7 separate regions of the Homo sapiens genome follow, and all the other regions are linked to region 3. Evidence: promoter capture Hi-C in 16 types of primary human blood cells and fetal thymus (Javierre and others, 2016). All regions are on one chromosome and are shown on one strand. Each heading gives the region's core, a stretch centred on a gene start or on the middle of the fragment in contact. The rest is flanking DNA. Distances are from core to core; before and after follow the strand shown.

The links. Contacts are between HindIII fragments. The CHiCAGO score rates a contact against its expected background, and 5 or more counts as called.
Region 1: a contact is called between a fragment that was not itself captured here and the fragment with the promoter of TFAP2B in region 3, in 10 of 17 cell types (total B cells, endothelial precursors, M2 macrophages and 7 more). The highest score is 10.7, in total B cells.
Region 2: a contact is called between a fragment that was not itself captured here and the fragment with the promoter of TFAP2B in region 3, in 2 of 17 cell types (total B cells and naive B cells). The highest score is 7.0, in total B cells.
Region 4: a fragment that was not itself captured here is called in contact with the fragment with the promoter of TFAP2B in region 3 in 17 of 17 cell types (monocytes, megakaryocytes, fetal thymus and 14 more); the score reaches 35.8 in monocytes.
Region 5: a fragment that was not itself captured here is called in contact with the fragment with the promoter of TFAP2B in region 3 in 1 of 17 cell types (neutrophils); the score reaches 7.2 in neutrophils.
Region 6: a contact is called between a fragment that was not itself captured here and the fragment with the promoter of TFAP2B in region 3, in 1 of 17 cell types (neutrophils). The highest score is 6.0, in neutrophils.
Region 7: a contact is called between a fragment that was not itself captured here and the fragment with the promoter of TFAP2B in region 3, in 9 of 17 cell types (naive B cells, neutrophils, total B cells and 6 more). The highest score is 13.4, in naive B cells.

The regions. Positions count from the first base shown.
Region 1 is chr6:51,996,813-52,000,372 of GRCh38, forward strand. The region is part of intron 35 of PKHD1 (PKHD1 ciliary IPT domain containing fibrocystin/polyductin); the gene reads right to left. Among named protein-coding and RNA genes, the nearest start is that of PKHD1, 89 kb to the right of the region's middle. The HindIII fragment of the contact is 1,970 bases long and covers 1,290-3,259 here.
Region 2 is chr6:52,057,147-52,060,814 of GRCh38, forward strand. PKHD1 (PKHD1 ciliary IPT domain containing fibrocystin/polyductin) reads right to left here. Exons shown (of 67, transcript NM_138694.4): 15 at 2,782-2,896; 16 at 1,177-1,455. Among named protein-coding and RNA genes, the nearest start is that of PKHD1, 29 kb to the right of the region's middle. The HindIII fragment of the contact is 2,171 bases long and covers 650-2,820 here.
Region 3 is chr6:50,816,368-50,820,121 of GRCh38, forward strand. TFAP2B (transcription factor AP-2 beta) reads left to right here and starts at 2,504. Exons shown (of 7, transcript NM_003221.4): 1 at 2,504-2,605. The coding sequence starts at 2,525. LOC124901490 (a long non-coding RNA gene) reads right to left here and starts at 2,659. Exons shown (of 2, transcript XR_007059923.1): 1 at 2,535-2,659; 2 at 878-1,277. The HindIII fragment of the contact is 1,562 bases long and covers 1,006-2,567 here.
Region 4 is chr6:52,018,713-52,022,513 of GRCh38, forward strand. All of the region lies in intron 33 of PKHD1 (PKHD1 ciliary IPT domain containing fibrocystin/polyductin), which reads right to left. Among named protein-coding and RNA genes, the nearest start is that of PKHD1, 67 kb to the right of the region's middle. The HindIII fragment of the contact is 1,127 bases long and covers 1,592-2,718 here.
Region 5 is chr6:52,270,148-52,273,487 of GRCh38, forward strand. It overlaps MCM3 (minichromosome maintenance complex component 3), which reads right to left. Exons shown (of 17, transcript NM_002388.6): 11 at 3,083-3,209; 12 at 2,154-2,304. Among named protein-coding and RNA genes, the nearest start is that of MCM3, 13 kb to the right of the region's middle. The HindIII fragment of the contact is 2,292 bases long and covers 717-3,008 here.
Region 6 is chr6:52,239,172-52,242,604 of GRCh38, forward strand. The region is part of intron 1 of IL17F (interleukin 17F); the gene reads right to left. Among named protein-coding and RNA genes, the nearest start is that of IL17F, 3.6 kb to the right of the region's middle. The HindIII fragment of the contact is 2,419 bases long and covers 428-2,846 here.
Region 7 is chr6:52,037,948-52,041,594 of GRCh38, forward strand. All of the region lies in intron 27 of PKHD1 (PKHD1 ciliary IPT domain containing fibrocystin/polyductin), which reads right to left. Among named protein-coding and RNA genes, the nearest start is that of PKHD1, 48 kb to the right of the region's middle. The HindIII fragment of the contact is 9,281 bases long and covers 1-3,647 here.

The DNA of each region.
Region 1 (3,560 bases), core at 1,025-3,524, 1.2 Mb after region 3:
CAAGGTCATTGAGGTCAAGTGTTTGCTGACGGCAATGTCCATTCTCCAGCTTTCCACTTATCAACAGCTTCAAGACTTACCTTCCAGGCATCACTGCTACCATATTTTTACCCAGGTATTTGGGATGGGATTAGCTCTATTCTATAAGTGCACAGTGATCACTCATTGGCCAAAACCAATCAACAAAGCCCATTACCCTGAGCAGAGGGAATTTTGCCCAATTAACTCAAGTTGGATCAATGAGTCATGAAGACATATTTGTTGGGGGGTTCTGGGGAAGAAATTTCCTTCTTCTGAACTGTGCTCATGAAAGACCCTTTCATTCCCATGTGATACGAATAGGAAAGCAAGTAGGCCTAGAAGCTACTGACAACCACATTGTGGCCACAGAGAAAGCAACCTTAGGTTGAATCTGACACTCTGCAAGGCAGGGAAGAGACATGGAAAGAGCCATCTCATTAGTGAGCCCTGAGCTGCTGGATCAAGCCATTCCTATGACTCCTTAGTTTTCCTGTGCTGTGAGCCAGTATAACATCTTTATCATCGGTTCTGTGAGCCAATATAGTCTCTTTATCAAATGATTTGAGTCATTTTTCCCTTGTGATTTAAGTCTTCATAACAAATTTTTTTAAGTAAAATTTAAAGAGAAAAAATGAAAGAGCATAAGTTTGGAAGCTATCTATAAACAGATTATAGAGAGCTATGGAAATGGATGTAAAATATATTCTTTATTTGAGGAAAGTTTCTTGATGCACAATATTCCAGTGTGTTTCTTAGAAGGAAATAAATAGAGACTTAGCACAGGCAGAAATGCCAAGAATAGTCATGTCTCCCCAGAAACTTCCACTGTTTGCAACAACATTACAAAGAAAGTGATTAATTTCTCAGTACTAGAAAATCCCACAGAGGATCTTCAGGGCATCAGGACTGCAGATGAGGGTGGAAACACATCACCGATGACATGGGAGGAGAGTGGGAGTCCAGAGGATGAAAAGAGGCTGAATGATATCAAATGTCCAGCCACCTTTCCTCACTAAGTCCCATCAGTCGTTTCTGCCTAATGGTTCCATCTCATAGCTTAACTTGTCATACTTGCCATCAAGAATGTAAATCCAGTTCTGATTCCCTGTAGACTCACAGAAAAACTAATTAAAGACACCATGTGGAATAGAGTGGGTCTGCCACAAGGCTGCAGAGCCACTTGTTAAAAATGGTGTCATCAGTTAAGTCTGGCTAGATTGCACGTGGCGATAAATAATCCCAAGTTTTCAGCGGAGCAATACAACAAAAGCTTATGTCTTGTTCACACAACATCCACTACAGATGTTGGCAAATCTCTTGGACAGAACAACTGTCCCCCATATGTTGAGGACGTATGTTCAGCCCACACTCTGGGCTATTTAGTCAACACAGAAAAAAAAAAAAGGCTAGAGATTTGAGCTCCAGAAATTCAGTGCTTCTACCCACATTCTATACAAGTCCTATGGCCCTATCAAACTTCAAAAGGCTGGGAAGGGAAGTGCTTCCTTGACCTCAAAATAAAGAACTGGATATTGGAGATCACTGTCACAGAGGGAATAACTGCAAAGCTGCTGCAAATTCTCTTAGGTAAAGGAGAAAAGGAGTCTAAAAAATCAACTAAGTATCCATTAATTTGAGGAGGTTACTAGCACTTAACTGGAAGTAAGGGAACTCTTCAAAATATTCCAAGTTATTCTGCATCTCCCATCAAAGGGAGAACCTGAGAAGACTAGTTTAGTAATTATAATATTCTAGAAAGGAGCTAGAGCTTTCTTTGTAAAACCTATAGAATCAAGGCATGCCTTTCCTGTTGTTTATTTGTTTGTTTTATTGTTTATTTTGTTTGGTTTTTTTCCCTTTTTTTAATGTATATACCCTTCAGGGTAGTTTATTCCCTCATTAAATGGCTACTTTTCTCTTTTATCCTCTAGAAAAAACACATTTCCTTTCTTCTGGTGTAGCTGAAATGATCCATTGGTGTGTATTTTATGGACAATATCTTCTCATCTGCACACTTTTCTGCTGATTTACATTTATGTTGGCTCCATGGAGAGATACAACCAGAAAGGGACTTTGTGGCATTGTTGGGATATCCACAACCCTGCCACTAGTCTACCATCAGCTAACTCCAGCCAAGGACAGCCAGGGGACTAGAAGAGGTGTTGCCTAACCCTCCTACCAGCAAAGCAATTCAAGAAGACAGTAACTAAAATAAGCTCTTAGAGGAGTTGTGCCTACACACCCTTATTTGACCTGCCCGAGGAGATTAGCTCAAAGCTGGAATGCACCAGTGGAAAAAGAACAGAAAGTGGAAAAAGCCTATGCCTGAAACTACCATTTTATAGAGTTAATGCAAGTTAACATCCACTCATACATACAGTAATACCATTAAGGTCATTTCTATCTCCAAGTAACAGCCTTTATCTAAAACCAGTTCAATATTCTTCATTCCTCCCAATGCTCCTGCCTCTCCCTTCTGGTTCCCCTTCTTTTCTCCTCTAACTCCCTGAGACACAGGAGTTTTTGTTTTTGTTTTTTTTCTGAGCTGATTTTCAATTCGATGAAGTCCGTTTCCATAACACTTTTAATATCTGAATAACCCATTCATCTTTACCCAAATTTCTTCACCTTCCAGGCTCCAGCTGCTCTGCGCTATCTGGTCAAGGTTCCCTACATTTCCTAATAAAGATGTGCATGTTAGGAGCAGTTACTGTGGCTCTTTAAAGTAAGAGCAGACTTCAGTGCTGTGGGAATAAAAGCAAGGTCTTTGGAGGGGAAGATTTATGGCTGAATCAACAAGAATTAAAAAGAGGACAACCCTGAGGAGAAAACCCAAGTTCTCCAAATTGACTGAATTGCCTTTTGTATCTCAAGGCTGAGATGATTATTTGTTTTTGCAAATAGAAATGCTATGTATATTAGACTCAAAACTGATAACATATTAGAGCTTTCAGCAAAATAAAAAATGTTTAACATGTCTAGTATAGAACCACATATCCAAACACTGATGAAATTCATATTACTCCTTACTCAACACAAATACACAACACATACCACAACCACCACCACTAACACACCACACCACATATACCACTGAAACCCATTCAACTACTATCTGAGACCCTTCATACCTGGGAAAGGAACCTACTCATAGTTGGGTGCCTTTAATTCTTCATCAGGCTTCAGGGAGATGGTAGTTTACTACTATGCATTCAAGAAATGGACCTGTGGAAAAGCAAGCTTTTCTCGCACATGAAGAATTAAATATACTGATAAAATAACATATTGACATATCACAGTTTTCACATTCTGTTACTAAGGACTTCCATAAAATCTTTCCATGTCGCTGGTCGAGAAATAGCAACTTGAGATTACAAAACTGAGTTATCCAGTCACCCAATGAGTCAGCAAGTAAACTAATTTGAACACTTCTGGTTCTTCAATTACCAAGCCTCACCTCCCCTGTAGAATCCAAAGAATCCCCATGTGAGGCCATTGTACCATCTATAGCAATTTCATAGCAAGCAGGCCTCTCTGCA
Region 2 (3,668 bases), core at 485-2,984, 1.2 Mb after region 3:
CTAATGAGAACTTTTGTTGGACTAACAGAGATGTCAGTCTTCCTATTTATCTGTGCCCCTTGATTGAGAGTATGAGATGTAACAGTTGCCATTGAATGCTGCACTTTCAGCCCCTCTCACCAATTGCTTTCTCCCAAGGGTAGCCCAGCAGGCAGAAGCAGCTCCATGGCATGCACCCTCTCTTGGAGGCTTATGCAGTCTCTGCTTTGCTTCCAACACATCAACACATTCCCTGTAGGGCACATTATAGTTTTGCTACTGAGTAAGTTCTATGCAGCTTTTTTTTTTTTAGATGGAGTTTCACTCTGTCACCAGGCTGGAATGCTGTGGCGTGATGCCGGCTCACTGCAACCTCCGACTCCCTGGTTCAAGCAATTCTCCTGCCTCAGCCTCCCAAGTAGCTGTGATTACAGGCACATGCCACCATGCCCAGCTAATTTTTGTATTTTTAGTAGAGATGGGGTTTCATCATGTTGGCCAGGATGGTCTCGATCACTTGACCTTGTGATCAGCCCGCCTTGGCCTCCCAAAGTGCTGGGATTACATGCGTGAGCCACCACACCTGGCCAGCTTTTAATCTCTTAAATCAATTGTTACTTTCTACTTTGTTCTATGGTTATTTGTGCACATGTTTTACTTTTAGACTGTAAGCTTTAGAGGGCAGAGTTCATATTGATTTGTCTTTGTACACCAAAAAGTGAACAACAAAAACTATAACACATAAAAACTCTTCAAAGAAAATATGGGGCACAGCTGAGAGACCCAAAGGACATGACCTTTTCAAAGTAGACTTAGAAAACACAGGCTATAGGGAAATAGGACCTCAATCAGTCAAAAATTATGGAATTTAATGTGTATATGCTCACATGCATGCACGCATACATGTCGGGCGTGTGTTTAGAGGACCTTGTCTCTTTTCTGGGAAATAAGTTTCTAAAAGAAGACTTGCTTGGAACTTAAATTCCTAAAACTAACTCAATGAGTAAGATAATCTCAGGAATAAGACATCACATTTTTGTAAACATCTTCACAATGCTGTTAAAGAGATATCCTATTTCTTTGACAGCAAGGTTATAATGACCCCTCAGGTCGCCAGACTCCCAGTCAGTGCTCCTGCTACATGGGACTTTATTCCTTCCAGAGTTCAGCTCCATGGGACTGGAAAGAGACACAGACCTGTACTTCTGGAAGCCTCTGGGCTCGGACTCGGATCTGGTGCTTCTCCCGTAGGTAAGTGGTGACCACATCAGGATTCAGCCAGGTGTTGTGAATCTGGACACCAATCCTCATCCCCCTGCTTGGGGCTATCCCATGATGCTCTGCTTCCAGGTAGTACATGGCTCCACCCAACAGCTCCAACTTGGGAGTCTTCTGCTGCCAGGTCCCTTCATCCCTATTCTGCTCCCAGGAGTCAAACCAGTCAGCAGTGCCGACGCTGATGGAGGCCACTTTCACCTATGCCCAAATAAGCATATCATGATCAATACTATGCAGCTTCCAGGCATCTCTTTCTCAAACACTAAGTGTCTGAACTGCTACTATCAAGAGAGTTTTGAACTGGTCTGCCTTTTTAACATATTAACCCAGTTACCTCAGCCCTGTGGTTATTTATGCTTCTCCAGCTCTCTATCTATCTATCTATCTATCTATCTATCTATCTATCTCTTACAATTGAGTAGTACTCAAATGAGAATAGATGGGCCATGTTCAGAGAAGGAACAACCAACCTAAACCCTAGGATTACATGACACTATGGAGAAGGTAGTATTAAGCCCTTCAGAGACCTCGAATGACTTGATCACATCAAAATCTATGACATTTCTCCAATAAACTAGCAAATCAATTTCAGACATACATAGTAATAATTTGAGGAAAATATTGTGATTCTTTGTCAATAGCATAAGTGCATTTTGGCTGCTGTTAAAGGCATCTTTTCTTATCCTTCAATGTTGTTGAGGAATTCCTACATACAGCTGCCTACATCTCCACCCAAAATTAGTGGAAAAGGCACAAGTTTTGTAGTCAGGTAAATTTGGGGTTGAATCCTCAATGTGCCTTTTGCTATCCAAGTGGATTGGGCACACAATCTTTCTTTTTTTTCTTTTTCTTTTTCTTTTTTTTTTTTTTTTTTTTTTTTGAGACAAGGTCTCACTCTGTTGCCCAGACTGGAGTGCAGTGGCAGCCACGACTGCCCAAGGCTCAGGTGATCCTCCTGCCTCAGCCCCTCAAGTAGTTGGGACTATAGGCATGCGCCACCATGCCTGGCTAATTTTTGTATTTTTAATAGAGACAGGGTTTTATCATGTTGCCCAGGCTGGTCTCAAACTCCTGGGCTCAAGTGATCTGCCTGCCTCAGCCTCCCAAAGCACTAGGATTACAGGAATGAGCCACCACACCTGGCCCACACAATCTTTCCAAGCCTCAATTTCTTCATGTGGAAAAGATACATACATATATCTTTATGTATATATGTGTATATACACACAAACACATACATAATATATATACATATATACATACATACATACATTTTGCAGAGATGCAGTGAAAACTAGAGACAAGGTCTATAAAAGATGTAGCATAATATTTGGCTTACAGTAAATGCTCAATAAATAGTACGTTCACATTCAAACAAGTTCTTTTTCAACAATTAAAGTTCCTGATCATCCAATGGCATGTTAAACTATCTGTAAAACATGAGAGCCTTAACTTTGATTCTTTCTTTCTTCATGGGTATGGGACTGGCAACAGAGAAAAGGAAAATGAGAAGACAGTGAATACCTTAGTCCTTGGTTCCTCTGACCAACTGAAATGCAAGGAAGCTTGGCTATCTGCCTGAATCCAGAAAGTGTAATTATTTGTCTCTGGAGCCACAAAGAACCCACTGAGCCGTGCTCTGTAAAGTAGAACATAGAGTCAAGCAAGAGTAACCAAGGCCTGAATCACTGAACCAACAAATGACTGCCCTTGTACTTTGTCTTCTTTTATGGTAATAAAGAAGAACAACCTGATTCTTATGCCACACAATTGTCCAGAATATTCTAGAAAGAGATATAGCACCTGCCTAGTCTCAGTAGCCCAATACATCTCTACACTGGACACAAATACCCTTGCTGTTGTGTCATGTTTGGGAAAGTTGTAGCCACAGCACACAGCTATACGGAAGCTTAGCTGACAAAACCACCTAACACAGCTATTGCAAGCCCTGGATCATGGTAGAAGCTCAATCTATAGTAAATACTATTCTTATTATTAGAAATAAAGACAGATTGCTTATGAGAATTTGCTCTGAGCTTACCAGCTACCTCAACACCTGCAGAGAGCATTTTTCTAATTAAAAATATTATGATCCACAGATAAGCGTCAATTCAAAATGTCAACAATTTCAAATTAAAACCCATCAAATGCAACTTTGAAGAAGATTACAGGCAATTTCATAAAACATTTTTTAAAAGATAATATTTTTAATATTTAAATTCCAGCAACCTAATATTATAGGCAGATATAGTTAAAGAACTGATTAGACTCTGTAAATAAATACCAAGAATATTTTCTGATAATGCTATTTTCTTAAATCTTCAGATGATCAATATAAAGATGTTTTTAAATTTTGCTTTAATGTACATACATTATCTTTATTTTTGAGATAATTTCATACCTAAAAATAG
Region 3 (3,754 bases), core at 1,254-3,753:
AAAAAAAATAACTAGGATTTTAATTATGGTTATGTATTTTGAAGGTATTTCTCTATATATATGTGTATATTTTTAGGTTTATGCTTCATTCTTAATAAAACCAGATTTGTTATTTTTCAGGTTTCCTAAAGAACTTAAATTTTAACCAAATATCTCAAGATATTTCCACTTTAAAAAATACCTAATACTAGCATAAAATAAAATTACACATAAAAAGTTTGAAATTATTCATATATAAGGCTATAAAATAGTTATACTAACACAATACCTTATATTATTTTAATTTATGTGTAAAATTATCTCTTGCAGGTTTTGTTTTGTTAAATCTCAGAGTTTATTTATTTTAGACTAGGCAATAATATACCAAAAAGATATTAAAAGGTGTTAAAAGCATTTAGAGAAAAAAAGTGAGATTTTTCCAAATGCATTTTATTTGGGTTGTAATGATCTTTAGGTAATAACAATGACAGAATTATTGATTTGAAAGGGAGAAAACAATTATTTCCATTAATTAAATGTCTTGTGCCTGGAGAATCTGAACTTCCAAGTCTATAATATTTATCTTTCAGATTATTGATCTGGCACTGATTTTAGTTCTAGAAGTCAGGGGGTGTGGAACCCGTTTCAAGTCCCACCACACAATAAGATTAAGAAAAATCCCTTCTCATCTCCTAACTAGCTCTGGAAGCAAAGAAGAAAATCTTTGCTGATGCTCCTAGTGAAAAATCTGTATAGATTGTGTATGATTTAAGGTTAACATTTAAAGGGGAAGAAAGGAATGGAGAGAGAAAGGAAGGAACGAAAAGGGAAATGAAGGAAAGAAAAAAGGAAAACAAAAAGGAGGAAGAGGAGAAAAGGAAAGACGAAACATAAAAAATTCAACCGGAAATAAGGGGTTTATTTCTGAAGTTCCTTCTGAAGCACCTTCTTTGTGTTCTTTTCCTTTGACTTATCTTTAAAAATTAAATTAAAAATCTGCAGAATTGTTTATTCTGCAGTTCATGAAGCTTCTCCTTGGTTTTGATTGAATCGACGTCCAACAAGGTTGTCCGGAGCCCTGTACTCAAACAGCGTCCATCCCTGTTCGCGCAGAGCTGCACACAGCAGTCCTGGATTTAAAGACAATCACCCTTTGCAGATTCACTCTCACCAGGCTTAATAACTTCCACCCCAAATTGCCCCATCCCTCCTCGGTCCCTCCTGGCATTTCTTTTCTGTCCCAGGCGCAGAGATCCTCTTCTGGGCGTCTGTTCCGGCTATGAGAAGCTCTCCGCACCCTGAAAGGGAGTAGAAAAACAGAGGGGATGGGAAAGGGGGAACAGGGGAACAGATGAGTATTCATTTCATGATAAAATTCAGAATCCCTGCGCCTTAAATGGTGCCCATTTTCTAAGTCTGGTTAATATTGTTCTTGTTGCTGATGATGTTTTCCTTTTTAAAAACTATATGAATCATCTTATTAAGAAAAATTATACAAAAAAAAGAAGAAACTCCACATGCACTAAAATATTTTTCACTATCTCTTTGAAGACATTCTGCTTAAACCTTTTCAAAGATTCGGGTGGCCCTTTCTTGACTCTCCATGATTAAAACCACTTACAAGTCATACACAACAGATGCAAATATAAAATGTCCTTGGCCTCTGCAAAAAAGGCTCAAAATTAACCTTGTCTGAACGTGTGCGTACGTTGCTTCCAACATCTGAAAAAAACTTGATAAAATGGAGACTCCAGCCAAGAGGAATGGTGCATGGAATCCGTTGAAAATGCATACAAACAACACCTAAAATAACAAGCAGCACAAACTGAGGTGTATTTAAGTTTCCAAAGGTTTTAGGTAAAATGACCAGAAAATATTAGAAATGGTCATCAACGGTGGCTAGCTTTTTTGTTCTATGGTGACAGAGATAAAGTTAAAAAAAAAAAAGTTGTGTAGCCATCAACACAGAGATAGTCCTTAAAATCCCCCATATCCAGCCTTTCAAAATACTCTCTTCCGGAACATACATGAATAGGAGGGAGCTTTTGTGTTTAAAAATCTTGGTAAGTGTCCCCCTTTAAAATCTACATAGAAAATAGGGGACTGATGGCCCCTGGTTTCTCATTATGAATTGCAAAGACTTCAGTTAGTGGCTACAATGATGTGTCATTTTCGATATAGAAGTTATAAAATGTATATATTATATTAATCACCCTGAACAACTCTTTGTTAAATGCACATTTGGAGTCTGCAGACTGTGTGACCCAGAGGTGCTTATATAACTATATGTGGGTGTCTGGGTGTAAATACGGGTTTATGATTTTTATAGTATATATGTCTGTGGGTTGCATCTAACTCCTGTGTGTGCAATAATGTTTTTTCTCTTTGCTGAGGCTTACTTGTCCAGCCTATTGTTTGAGACAACAGATATAAGTTGCGATGGGAGAGGAGCGTCGGATTTGGTGTGTATCCCCCATTTCCAATTATAGATGGATCATTACAGACAGCGGAGTCCTGAGAAGCCAGACATCTGCTCCTCACATGAATGCACTCACCTCCTAGAGACCAGGCTGCCATCATGCTCTGGAAGCTTGTGGAGAATGTCAAGTACGAAGATATCTATGAGGTGAGTCGACACCCCCAGATGCACCTTAGAGCTTTGCAGATAGAGAATTTGAGCTTCTTGATACCCCAAATGATATATATTTTTAAGCTATTTACTCGTAGATTTCCGGTCGGTTTTCTCAGCTTTTTTTAACTTTTAGAAAAGCTGGCTAGGGAAGACTTCGCTGCTCTGAAAAGGGACTTTAAGGCTGAAATCTGACAACTTTAATTTAGGAATGTTTTTATTTATTTTATTTTTCTTTCCCTTTTCCTCGCCTCCCCCCACCCCACCCCACCCTTTTAAGCTCTGATGGGGAATGTGGTGCTACTGAATGTGGGCACGCTCTCAGAGAAAATCGAGATTCTGATAAAGTCAGGGGCTTTTCTCGTTTTAAGTGTGGAAGAGAATTGGGTTTTCAAGCCTCATTTGTAACAGACTCGGGCTTTTAATTTTTATTTTCAATAAAATTTCTGAAATTGATAACAAATGGTTCCAAGTAGAGGACAGAGAATTAGCGGGAAAGAAGTAGATGGCTGGAGATATGGATGGATAGAGCAAAATAGAAGTCGTAGCAGTTTATTAGTTTCTGTTTTCTTGTGTTTTGCTTCCTTGAGGGTCACTGCGTCCGAACAGAAATCGCAGCCGCCTCCTGTGTGGGCATCTTTCACGGAAATTTCTGCCCACGTTCAATGCGTACGGGTCTCTAGCACTGAGGCTAGCTCAACTCTTCGGGGCAGGAGAAGTTGCGCCCAGCCAGGAGGACGCCAGCCGCCTCCGGGGCCCGGACCGCGCTCGCCAAAGCCCTTTTCCGGCTCGGGCGAGGGCTGACGCGGCCAGACGGCTCCGCTACTCGCGGGCGAGGCGGACTAGGCGGACGAGGCGGCCGAGGCGGGCGAGGTGGGAGAGGCGGGCGAGGTGGGAGAGGCGGCCGAGGCGGGCGAGGCGCGGGGCGCGCGGCGGGCCAGGCTGGGGACCGGGAAGCCCGCGGAGCCTCGCTTTTAAGCGGAATGGTCTGGGACAGCCCCAGGTGGTTGCCAGGGGAAGGGAGGAAGGGAAGGTTCTGCTGAGACGTCGAGGTTGGAAATAAAAACTTCGGAAAGGCGAAGCGGATTTAGAAAAGGAGGGAAGTCGAGGCGGGCGAAGCGGGCCATGGAGATTGCTAAGAGGAAA
Region 4 (3,801 bases), core at 905-3,404, 1.2 Mb after region 3:
CCATGTTGCCCAGGCTGATCTTGAATTCCTGAGCTCTGGCAATCCACCTGCCTCAGCCTCAAAAAGTGCTAGGATTACAGGCATGAGCCACCGTGCCTGGCCAAGTTGACCAACTTTTTTATGTTTGGTAACAACTCATGTTTTCTCTTCTGTGAAATTCCTGTTTCTCTCATTTGCCCATTTTTCTATTGGGTTGTTTGTCTTATTGACTTGGATAAGTTTATGAATTTCTTGATTTTCACATAATTATAAACATTAGCATGTTATAGAGATAAAAAGCAAGTATTTGAAGCATGCTGACTCTCAGGCCATTTTTTTCTGAGTCATGACCCACATATAAAAAGCATCATGAGGCAGACTGGGAATGATCTTTAACTAGAAGATGAACAAAGCTCCACATGAGATGGTTTAGGAGCAGCTCTGTCTGAAAACCTTAATAAAGAGGGAAAATTTAAAAAAATCTCTGTAGCCTGCTTCCTCTGCAGCAAGCCTGCCCATGTGGGTAATGCAACAGAGGTTATCAAGGGCCGTGGGCTTAGACCTGTGCTTCCCCGCCTCATTACAGTGCTGTGGCAAGGGTTACATGAGATAAGTACGTGGGGGAGGGTTTGTAGTTATGCAATCATGCCCAAATAGTACTATTGTTGCTGTTATATTCTAAAGCACCTGGCACCTAGGAGGTTGGCTGTGAATGTGTTTTGAATGAATTAGAGCAATAAAAATGACTGACAGTAGGACTCTTGTATGAACAGACAAAACATAAGAACTTTCCAGTTAGTAAGCCCTAAGGCAAATAAAAACAAGCTCCACACCTATAAAATAATGAATTCATTAAAGGTGATTAAGTAGATGCAAATTGACAAGCAGGATTATGAAAATCACCCAGGGCTGGGGATCAAAATCTATGGGTTTTACTCAAAGTTCTGCCACTAAATAGCTGCGTGACCTTAATCACTTTAGCTTTCCATGCCTTATGGAAAAGTTAAAGTTTCCATGAAAATGTCATGTGGTATAATTCAAGGTATAAATGCAAGAAAGCCAAAGATCAAAGATTTTGCTCATTTTAAACAAACACAAAGTATTAGTTTCACCTAACAGGATGTTTTGGCAACTCATTACAAGAAAAAGGAAATTTCTCCTATGGTTAGAAGTACAGTTTGTGGGGATGGTAAAAATGGGTGACCTCCAAAATAGCAAAAGCACATTTGTAGAGCCCCCTGCTTTAACTCCCCCTGCCCCACACATGTAAAGAAAACATATTAGTTCTGTGGCACAGGCATAAACAAAACAATAATTAAGAACGTTTGAGTTCAGGGTCATTATCTGTAACCTGGAATGTGAAACATCACTCTATGGTACAAAGTCAAACTGAAGAAAAAAACTCAAAGCACGGGTCAGAATTCAAAGCGACCTTGGTAAATGAGAGAAGTTAACAGAAATAAACAAAAGAACAAATGAAAAGAGTAAGACAGTAAACTACAAAAGAAAAAAAGAAATCATATAAATATGAGGAAAGTCCAGCTGTGCACAGCCATGGTAGAAATGCGTGCGTGCACACACACACCCCTTGGGATAACAGTAGGTAACAGAAAGCTTATTAACCAGCAAGACTGCAGTATAATTGTACAAACAAACATGGGATCAGACGATACACAGGCATCTTACGATGCTACCCAATTTGGCCAGAACTTGCTTGTATAGAACAGCTTCCTCATTTGGGGCTTCAAATTAGGAAAGAATATAGGATTTCAGAGAGGGCTGAAAAGTGAGATACTAAAATGTTTACTTGGAAAGTTTCTGATTCAGTAGGGCCCAAGAATTCACATTTCTAACAAGCTCCCGGGTGAGGCCCTTGCAGCTACTGCTCTGGGAAGCACACTTCCAGAACTGCTGCCATAGAGGAACTAAGAATACTCCACTTTCCAAAGAACCACCCGCTGATTAAGGTTGAAAAAATTAGAGTAGGGGAGCATCCATTAGGCAGAGGATGGATTTCTCTGAAAAGAGCAACTGCGAAACACTTGTAAGGGTTGCTGCTGGGAAATTCTCCCCTGAAAAATCTTTAAAAATACAAGTGATTTTTAGCTAACTTGGTTGTACTCAATCCTGTCTGAAAATGGAGAAATTAGTAGTAGTTTCTAGTAATGTCTAAGACCTATCCCCTTTGACATTTGATGTCCATTATAGACCTACTTCCTAGGGAAAAAAAAAAAATACACAGTCATACACTCAAAATGCTTCATCCAGTTTCAGCGGGTTAACAGAATCCCCAAATCCCATCTTGGATCTTAAGTAAGAAACCTCTGGAGTTGGCTCTCACAATTTCCTCTCAATCTTTAGACATTGTGATTGAAAGTCTTTTAAAAGACTTTTTTATGAAAGGAAAATTAGTTAAATTATGCATTCCTCTAGAGTAAATGTGTGCCTTGCACAATCAATGAGTGTTTGGTGACACCTAGTGGCCATATAAATAGTTACAGTTTCCAACTAATTTTCCTCTTTAAAAAATCATGGAATGTTGAGTTCTTTTCTAAATCTTTCTAAACACAATAATTATTTTATTATTCTTCCCCAAGAAGTTATAAAACTTAAAATATCACAACTTACCTGATCCTGAAACATCATTGATTTTTATCTTATACTAGTTGAAATTAAGTGTTTTGAAATAATAACACGGGGCTTTTAAAAGTATATTAATTTGAGCAGTGTATATATGAAAGCTTTTTTAAAAAATGTAGCAGTATTAGTTAAAAATTAGAGCCTATAAATGTGCAGTCTTAGCTTTCTGTTTATGCTATCTCTCATTTATTCCTCACCAAGCACTAATTTTGCACATACCCTCTGCAACACTGTTCCTAGCAGAGGAGGTAGAGCAGTGAATCAGACAATGTTTTGAACTTCAATCTTCTATTGTATCTTAAATTTCCCATTGTGGACTCTATCTCTCTTCCATAATGTGTTTATATACATGATGATAATAGGAAACTCAATTTCTAGCATTTTAACAAAAATTTTTTTCTCCTCCCCTTCTTCTTCCTCTTCCCTCTTCCCCCTCCTCCTTCCCCTCCTTCTCCTCTTTGTATAAGACAACACAGCACAAATTTCCATCACAATAGCATTATCCATCATTAAATTCTCATCCAAGCTCAGATGATGTGGTGCTTTTATCATTTTGTAAATCTTTAGCCCACATTCAAGTTGCAGACAAATAAATTAGGAATAAAACTTAAACACTACACAGAAAGGAGGTATGTAAACGGTTAAGTGCACAGGTACAAGATTTATGATTAGGCAAATAAGGTAATCACCTGGCTAAATGTGAGCTATCTCAAATGTAGTAAGGTCCTGTAGTAATAACAGTAATTTCTTCCTTTTGACTTTATTTCCTGAAGCTCAGTGGGGTATTACCATGTGTTGTGAATCCCCAAGCTTTGCAACTTACTCTCTCATCTCTTTCCCCACAAAGACACGGCTTCTCATACCACAATTTATATGATCACTACGCAGCTTAAAGTAGTGAGCAATTGTGGTGTTTTACTGAATAAGAAATAAGTAATTATGTGAGTATTGCAAAACAAGAAGACAACATGAGTGTTGGCTCTTTTGCCTATAATAAGAAACCGAAAACTGAACACACAAAGCTAATTTTCAAGTGATATCCAGCTTGAAAATCTCCATCCCTTTACTGGTACCTCCAATAAGCAGATGTCTTCAGCAACCTCACCTCAGAACAAAGCCAAGAGCTTGTTTCCTCCATGACTCCTATAGCTGTCATTGAAACTAATATTCAGAATTCAGAAT
Region 5 (3,340 bases), core at 613-3,112, 1.5 Mb after region 3:
ACCCCATCTCTATTAAAAATACAAAAGAAAAATTAGCCCGGTGTGGTGGCGCATGCCTGTAATCCCAGCTACTCAGGAGGCTGAGGCAGGAGAATAGCTTGAACCCGGGAGGCAGAGGTTGCAGTGAGCCAAGATCATGCCACTGCACTCCAGCCTGGGCAACAGAGCGAGATTCCATCTCAAAAAAAAAAAAAAAAAGAAAAAAAAAGAAACTACTTCCTTCTGTCACACCTCCCGGGTCTCCCATTATATGACCCCATCACTGACGTATCCTGGTCACTTCTTGTTTCAAGTTTCCTAAATTACCATGTATATCCACAATGACATTCAAAAATAAATACATTCACATTTAAATTCATTCATCAAATCTTGTAATAATTTAGAAAGCTACCGGAGTTTGGAAGTCATACACTCCATGACAAGTTCTAATTCTTAAACCACCTAAAAAGCTGGTGAAATCCTGGCCTGCACTAGCAGACCTAGAGAATCCAAATTCTCTTGGAATTCACTTACAGACCCCACACTAAGACAATTAAAATAGTGTATGACGCTCAGTTCTAGGTTCAATGAGAGGGCCTGGGACACACCAGAAGTTCGCATGTGGAAAGGAACAGTTAAAAAGAAAGTAAGCTGTTTAATGAGGAAGACAGGCGATACACAACCTCCAGAAAACAAGACTAACACCCACAGGTAAAAGTTGTGGGAAAATAGGTTTAAGCTTAATAAATATTCTAAAATTTCAAAACAGTGATGCTCTGCGCATGCTGTCACTGGGGGTATTAAGAAGTCCCGGCCGGGCTCATGCCTATAATCCCAGCACTTTGGAAGGCCGAGATGGGCGGATCACGAGGTCAGGAGATTGAGACCAGCCTGGTCAACACAGTGAAACCCCGTCTCTACTAAAAATACAAAATTAGCCGGGCATGGTGGCACGCACCTGTAGTCCCACCTACCCGGGAGGCGGAGGTTGCAGTGAGCCCAGACCATGCCACTGCACTCCAGCCTGGGTAACACAGCAAGACCGCATCTCAAAAAAAAAGTCCCAGCAGGGATTTGAAAAGACAGAGTGGGTGAGGCTTGAGTAGATGATCTGGGATCATGTCTAATCCAAGAATCTATGTCTATGTAACATAATAAGAGTTCTGGACTTGGGTCTTTCTGCTGTAAAATCCTATGTGAACTACACTGCCCCTAAAAGATTTAGACAAATTTGGGCCGGGCATGGTGGCTCACACCTGTAATCCCAGCACTTTGGGAGGCCAAGCCGGGCGGATCACCTGAGGTAGGAAGTTCCAGAGCAGCCTGACCAACATGGAGAAACCTGGTCTCTATTAAAAACACAAAATTAGCCGGGTGTAGTGGTGCATGCCTGTAATCCCAGCTACTCAGGAGGCTGAGGCAGAACAATCGCTTGAACCAGGGAGGTGGAGATTGCAGTGAGTTGAGATCGCGCCATTGCACTCCAGCCTAGCCAACAAGAGTGAAACTCTGTCTCACCAAAACAAAAACAAAAACAAAACAAAAAAAAGATTTAGACAAATTCATGGACACCTATATTAGGTTACCAGAAATTGCTTTGAATAACCATCATGGTTGCCTGTTAGTCATTTTTTCAAAGTCCAGTCCAAATATCATACTCTCTGGGAATCCTTCCTTGACATTCATACCCCTTCAGGGAAGTCTAAAAGAAATTAACAGTTTATTCGTCTATGCTCAAATAGCCTTTCACGTTCATTCCTTTGTAAGTACCACACTGGGGTAAATATTTATAAATATGTACGGAAGTCTTTCTATCTACCTTTGTGCTTCCCCCGCTCCGGATCTGAGCTCTTTGAAAAGAGTGTTTATTAATTTTACATTGCTTGTAAGAGGAAAGACTAGGTCACTTCCCAGAAGTCACTCCTATGTTTGCTGAATGAATCACAGCTTCTGGAGGCCAATGTCATTTTAACTAATAAGAGACATGTTATCTCTGGGGTCCTTATTTCATTTTCCTTTATAAAAGGAAATGATTAAAATTGTATAACAGGAAGCCCTTCAGACCAGGAAAAAAGTCACTAAGTTAAAATGCTTTCAAAGCTCCCAGATAGCAGGGACTCCTGCCCAGCCATATACCTAAGGGACCCCAAGCCTAGGCTCCCCCAGGCACTCACCCTGGCGGTGTCTGAGCTCATGCTATCCTGGCTGCGCAGGCGTGAATACTCTTCTGCAATGTAGGTGGCCGACTCCTGTGTCAGGACAGGCTTGATGATTTTGGCCACATGGATGTACTTCTTCATGAATGCTGCACTCACCATCTTCTCCCTGGAGCCACACACAGTGAATTCCATCTCCCTGCCACACCTTACCACCTGCCTGGATTAGTGGCTTTGCCTCTCAGAAAAGCCAGGGTCAAAACAAAGCCTAGAACCCATTATCATAACTCCCATTTATATGGAACATAGACAAGACTCTTTCACATATTTTTATTTAATTATTACAGGTATTATTTGTAAGTTAGGTAGTTTAGGCAGAAAGTTTAGGTATTATTTGCTCTATTTTGTAGGTGGGAAAACTACAGCTCAGAGAAGCTCAAGTTGACTAAAAGTTTTCTGACTCCAAATTCTACATTCTTAAACCAACAGCTTTGAAGATTATGCTATGCTTCTTACTGCATCATGGCCAAAAATAGGTGTAAGATCCCACATTTCATGCTTTGAGCACCTGATCACACGTCTCCTTCACCAAGTCTACCTACAAAGTCTCAAATGTTTGCTATCTGCTGACCCTTCATCACAAATGGCTACATGACACTTGCCATCTTTCATATATAAGGCACACCCACCATCAGGCGTATCATCAAAACTCTATTTTAAGAAAAGACCTGAACCTGCGCTGAATCACCTAAACATTTACAAGGCAACTGGCCAGGATAAAGGATATATTGTGGACCCAGAAAAGAAGAAAATTAATCCACGTGGTTATGACTCCAGGCATGGCTTTGACCTGGGCATATAAGGCCTTAGCTAAGCTTAGATATACACATGCTCTAATATAACACATATTTCAGGTTCCCTTGAGGAAGAGTTATGAGAATGCTCACTTTTTCTTCTTGGTCCCATGTAGAAGGTTGTCATGCTTCTCATAAATCTGGGTGTCCTGCTGATCTTCCTGGCTAAAGTTGGGATCATCTGTGGCCAGGATATCCACAGCACTACCCAAGGGCATAGCTGGTATACCCAAGTTAGGAGAAAGGAGAGTAATAAAGAGTTTAACCCAGGGGAAATTGCTTCTTCTATAGCACAAGAAGGGGAGACACCAAGATTCATAAAGAAAGGGCCCAAAAAGAATCAGACACATG
Region 6 (3,433 bases), core at 387-2,886, 1.4 Mb after region 3:
ATAGTCTAAAAGCTCCCAAACAGTGAGACAGAAAGATGCAAGGGTCTGAGATTGAGTTAAAATCCTATCCTGGCTTCCTTGCTGAGCCTCTAGTTTCTCTTCCTTCCAACTGGATAATAATGCTCACTTTATGAGACTACTAATGAGATTAAATAGAATGTTCTATATAAAACACCTATAAATCTGTATAAGAAAAATAGAGGCTTAATAAACGATAGCTCTTGTTTTTATTTCCAACTTGATATCCCATGAATCTCCCACAAAATCCTTCTTCGGAGCCACCCCTCTACCTAGAATACACTGCCTAGAATACTCTGTCTGTCAAAATCCTACCCTTCCATTAAGGCCCAGCTCAGATGTGATCTCCTCTAAGAACAGTCCCTAAAATGGTTCAATCAGAAGCATGTTTATTATCCTTAAATTATAAAGCTTTGATCATCTAGCACTCAAGCAGCATTTTTTAATTGTCTAGAAATGTAGTATTTGTGTTCCTGTCAGATCTACACCCATTAGATTGTAAGTTCCTGCATATTACACATTTTCCATAAACACTTTTGGAATGAATGAGTGAATGAGTGAATGAATGAACAAAATGATACAGCTAAATTGAACTATATAGTTAAGCTCACTGCATTAAGAAAAACATTACGCAAAACCAACGATAGCAAAGTTCCAATTATCCATGCTAATTGAAAGAAACCGGGGCACTAATGATGCACCACAAGAGAGAATATGGAAACTATTTCTCTTTAGCTCTGGAGCATTTTTTTTATACTTACGTTGAAATGCCAGTTTATCTGGTGTTATAGGAATGCGCAAAGAATGAAAGTGCACTGAAGACCTAATGAAAAGAAAAGCTACAAATCTTGCCAGATTCCCTTTGTCACAACCATGCTTTGCTCACCCACCATTGCCACTGACCCTTACTGGGGATGAGCAAGGCCCATCACCAACTCTCAACATAATACAGAAGAAGAGCTGAAGGCCGGGTGCAGTGGCTCACGCCTGTAATCCCAGCATTTTGGGAAGCCGAGGTGGGTGGATCACCTGAAGTCAGGAGTTCAGGACCAGCCTGGCCAACATGGTGAAACCTCGTCTCTACTAAAAATATAAAAATTAGCCAGGCGTGGTGGTGCACGCCTGCAATCCCAGCTACTCGGGAGGCTGAGGCAGGAGAATCCTTTGAACCTAGGAGGTGGAGGTTGCAGTGAGCCGAAATTGCACCACTGCACTCCAGCCTGGGCGACAGTGCGAGACTCCTGCTTGGAAAAAAAAAAAAAAAAAAAAGAGCTGAAAATAAGTTGCTTTTATTCTCTAGGCTTAGCGTTGTTCAGGCTCACACCTTCCATGAGTTAAGGTAGGGAAGGTGATTAGACATGTTGGTTTCAAAGGCCTTCCTTTTCATATTTTGCAGATACTAGAGACAAAAAACAATAAGAGTAAACAAAAAGGTCATAGTGTCCATTTGCCATACTGAGGAAGCTGACACTAAAAAGAAGTTGAAAGCAAGATTGACCCAGAAGAGTCAGAATGAGGCTGATTTGCCTTTAGATAATCAGCAATCATCAACTTTCATCCCCCACAATCGTTCATTCATTCAACAACTAGCTCTTGACTTTACAGTGTGGTAGCTCAGGGCATGGGCTTCAGAGTCAGAAGTCCAGGGTCTGTAACTCAATTCCAGGACTCTTAGAAGCGATGACTCTGTTTCCTCAAAAAAAAAAAAAATGTGAAGATTAAATGAGATGATCCATATAAATTATGAAGAACACTGGCAGCATATGATAAGTATCCAATACTGGCGACTCTTGCTAACTCTATATTGTGCTACACAGTGGACTAGACAGATGTGGAATTTACACTCATATACCTTGTCTTGACAAACTGCTATGGCGTTTGTTTGTTTGTTTGTTTGTTTGTTTGTTTTGATGGAGTCTCACTCTGTCGCCCAGGCTGGAGTACAGTGGCACAATCTTGGTTTACTGCAATCTCCGCCTCCCAGGTTCAAGCGATTCTCCTGCCTCAGCCTTCCGAGTAGCTGGGATTACATACGTGCGCCACCACACCTGATAATTTTTTGTATTTTTAGTAGATATAGGGTTTCATCATGTGGTCAGGCTGGTCTTGAACTCCTGACCTCAAGTGATCTGCCCACCTCGGCCTCCCAAAATGCTGGGATTACAGGCCTGAGCTACCGCGCCTGGCCTGCTATGACTTTTTTTTTAAAAGATGCCAACTTATATTAGAGGGTCTTAGATAACTTCCCAAGCCTACCAATCACATATTTAGGGTTCTTAAGTAAATTCCTCCTTTGTGTTTTCTCTTTCCTCTTCTGTGTCATACTCACTGAATCACTATTAATTTTCATTATGAAAACTTTTAAATACATACATTGGAGTTATATGACTTAGCAATAATTACAATGCTTCTAACAAGTCATTATTACATTTGCTTATATATTCTTAGAGTATATTAGAAAATTCTTTTACATCTCTTTAAACACTGGATTTTCACAACTACCTGGTGAGGTAATCAGAGCTAGTATTAATTATCCCAATTAGACAGGTGAAAGAGTTCTGTCCCAGAGGGAATAAATAACTTGATTGGGTTCACCAGCCTATGAGTACCAGTCTGGGGACTCAAACCTAGGTGTCAGTAGTCAGTGCTATTGTCATTGAAGGTCATTTTTATTATTACCAACATTAATCTTAGTTTTGTCTCATTAGAAGAGCTAAGTGTTTTAGGTAATGTGACAGCTGTACTAGATGTGCATAAGTGTTGTAGGTCACATAGCTCGTTATCAGGAAATCAGATGATGTCTGCAAATACTCCAATTTGCTCCACAAAGCTTTTGATCTGAAACTGTAGATTTTAGTGGTTATGTAATACAGAGCAGGGGCTCTGAACCAGGCTGTTGCTGGTTCTTAAGAATGATTTAAACAGCACCTCTCAGAGAAATCCAGAGCATGACTTGAACTCTTATATGCCACCTATAAAGCAGATGAATAGATATCGCTCTCAATCTGTATAATAGGGGACAGGGGCAAGGGAAAGCACCAGGTGAAGGTGAGCTGTAACAGGACAACAACCTTCTCAGCCTAGCTTTGCACCTCACTCTAATGTGAGCTCACCTGAGCAACCTGAACATCCATCCTCTATACTCACCAGCAATGTGTGGACACATGTAAGCATGCACCTGGCCAACCTCTAGGTCCATGAGAATTTGCCTCAACTACTTATTGAAGATGTCCTATCTGCCTGCACCTCTCAACTTCTAATCCTATTCCAATGCTCCTTGCACTGTTATGTTTCTTGCTGACAACCCAACAGATTTCTTTAAGGAAACTAGAATTAGAAATAGCTATGGAGCACAAAGCTACCCAACAGAATTGCTTGGATGCAATGGCTTTAAATTCACAAATCTTGCCTCTGA
Region 7 (3,647 bases), core at 72-2,571, 1.2 Mb after region 3:
TAGGTTATTACCCTAGATCCCAATAACTCCAAATGTGACCTTATTCAGAAATGGGATCTTAGCAGATGTAATTAAACTAAGATGAGGTCACACTAAAAAAAAGATAAGCCCTAATCCAATATGACTGGTGTCTTTATAAAAAGGGGAATTTGGGCCAGGCGCAGTGGCTCACGCCTGTAATCTCAACACTTTGGGAGGCCGAGGCAGGCAGATCACAAGGTCAGGAGTTCGAGACCAGCCTGGCCAGCATGGTGAAACCCTGTCTCTACTAAAATTACAAAAAATTAGCTGGGCATGGTGGCTTGTACCTGTAGTCCCAGCTACTCAGGAGGCAGGAGAATTGCTTGAATCTGGCAGGCAAAGGTTGCAGTGAGCTGAGATCGCACCACTGCACTCCAGCCTGGGCAACAGAATGAGACTCGGTCTCAAAAAAAAAAAAAAAAGTTGGCAGGGGTGTGCAAGGGGGAAATTTGGACACAAGCAAGACACAGGGAGGATACCATATGAAGGTGAAGGCAGAGATTGGGGTGGTGTTCTACCAGCCAAGGAACACCAAAGATTGCCTATAAGACACCAGATGTTAAGAGACAGACATGGAACAGAGTCTTCCTCAAAGTTTGGTTCAGAAGGAACCAACACTCCTGACACCTTCATCTCAGACTTCTGGCCCCCAGAATTATGGGACAATAAATTTTTGTTGTTTAAAACACTCAGTTTGTGGTACCTGATTGCAGCAGCCCTAACAAACTAATACAGACCCCTACCTCATACCATGTACAAAAATTAACTCAGAATGAATCAGGTACCTACATCTAAGAGCCAAAACTATAAAACCCTCAGAGGAAAACATAGGCATAAATCTTTGTAACATTGGATTAGGCAATAGTTTCTTAGATGTGACACCAAAAGCACAAGCAATAACAATAAATATAAACTGGACTTCAACAAAATTAAAAATTTGTGTGCTTCAAATAACACTATTTTTAAAAAGTGAAAAGGCAACTCACACAATGGGAGAAAATATTTGCAAATTATTTATCTGATAAGTGATTAGTACCCAAAATACTTTAAGAACTTACACCTCAACAATAAAATGACAAATAACTCAATTTAAAAATTGGCAAGATTTGAATAAGCATTTCTACAAAGATGTATAAATGGCCAATAAGCACATGAAAAGATATTCAACATTTTTAGTCATTAGGAAAATCAAAATCACAATGAGGTATCATCTCATGCCCATTAAGATGGCTACTGTGAAAAATAATAATAACAAGCACTGGTGAGGGTGTGGAGATATTGTGATATGGTTTGGCTCTGCGTCCTCACCCAAATATATCAAATTGTAATTCCCAATGTTGGGGAAGGATCCTGGTGGGAGATGATTGCATCATGGGGGCAGATTTCCCCCTTGCTGTTCTTGTGATAGTGAGTGAATTCTCAGAAAACCTGGTTGTTTAAAAGTGCATAGCGTACCCCTCTTTGCTCTCTCTCTCCTGTCACTATGTGAAGATGTGCTTGCTTCCCCTTCACCTTCTGCCATGACTGTAAGTTTCCTGAGGAATCCCCAGTCAAGCCTCCTGTATAGCCTGCTGAACTGTGAGTCAATTACACCTCTTTTCTTTATAAACTTTCCGGTCTCAGGTAGTTCTTTATAGCAGTGTAAGAATGGACTAACACACATTGGAACCCTCTTATATTGCTAGTAGGAATGTAAAATTATGCAGCCATTTTGGAAACAGTTTGGCAATCCTTCAAGAAGTTAAACATGGAGTTACCATATGACCCAGCAATTCCATTTTTAGGTATATACCCAAAAGAACTGAAAGCATATATTCCTGCAAATCATTGTACACAAATATTCATAGCAGCCTTATTCATAATAATCAAAAAGTGGAAACAATCCAAATGCACATGATGAGATGGATGGAAAACAAAATATGGTATATCCATACCATGTAATATTGTTTAGTCATAAAATTGAATAAAGTACTGATACATGTTACAACATACATGAACCTTAAAAATATCATGCCAAGTAGAGAAGCCAGATGTAAAAGGTCACATGTTGCATTATTTTATTTATATTAGATGTCTAAAATAGGCAAATTCACTTAGACAGAAAATATATCTGTGGTTACCAGGGATTGGGAAGAGGGAGAAACAGTGACTGACTACTAATGTATACAGGTTCCTTTCCATGATGATGAAAATGTTGTTGAATCAGGTGGTGATGAGGTATACAACTTTGTGAATATACTGAAGACTGCTAAGTTTATACTTTTTAAAAATGAGTTTTATGATATGGGAATTATATCTCAATTTTTTAAGTTAAAAAAGAGATCCTTGGGGTAAAGAAAAGAATAAAATATCCTACCTATTTCTAAGGTATACTACCCTAGGCCAAGCCAACATTATCTCTCCCCTGGATGTCTGTCATATCCTCCTAACCGGTCTTGCTGGTTCCATCTTTGCCTCCCTACTGTGAGTTCTCACACAGCAGCCTAAGTCAGATCATGTCACTTCACTTGAAATCCTCCAATGGCCACCATCTCACTCAGAATAAAAGCTGAGTGAGCTGAGGGCCATTCATATCCCCCAAGGCCATATAACTTGCTTTGGGTCATCTTCTACTGCTCTCCCCTCACTCAATCTACTCCAGCCATGGCAACCTCCATGACATTCTGGAACAAGCCAGTCTAACTTTGACTCAAGACTTTTTGTTCCTTGATGTTCCTTCTGACTTGAACTGTCTTCCCCAAGATTTCCCCAGAATTCATTCCTTCACTTCACCCATATCTCCCTTCTCTAAGGCCACTCATGTCATTCCTCCAATGCCAATGACTATACCATCACAACCATCTACTCCATCCCTCTTCATCCCCTTCCCTTCTTGATTTTTATCCTATACACTTACCATCACTGCCCCAAGAACAGAGGATTTGTTTTTATTTACTGTATCCCCAGCATTAATAATGCCTGGTAATAAAAGCTAAATAAATTGTCATTATGATTATTGTTGATGGTAACAATTAAAGGTTGAAGAGGTGATGATATCTTGCCATTCTCATTTGAAAGTTTAGACTATGGCCACACAAGAGTCCGTACCTTAAAGAAGACAATGCTATCTCAGCACAAAAATGAATGAAGAAAGTATGTAAAGCAAAGCCAAGATTTTCCTCAAAAAAATCCTTTCAAGGGTTTTGCTTCTGCAAATGGGTAGGTGGTGATTTATCACATTATTGTATCCATTCATTACATATGCAAATATTCTGTAAATTTCTTGCTGATAGGCCCCAGCCTGGTTCTCTTTAAATACCCCAGAGCATCATTTCTCAAACTGTACTCTTCATAGAGATTGCCTGAGGACATGTTAAAATGCAGATTAATTCAGAAGGTCTGGGGTGGAGCCTGAGACTCTGCATCTCTAACAAGCTCATGGGTATTACAGATACTGCTTGTCCAGGACCACACTTTAAGGACCAAGGTCTTCAGCACCTCACACAGGGCTAAATGGGATGGGCCAATCAGTGTTGAGTGAGTGAGTACTGATTAACTCATAGGTGGCAGGGCAAAGGAAGAATTAATAGAAAAAGTTTAAATCCAGTAATAAGGAAAGCAGCAGCTAGAGCCTCTCTCTCTCCCTC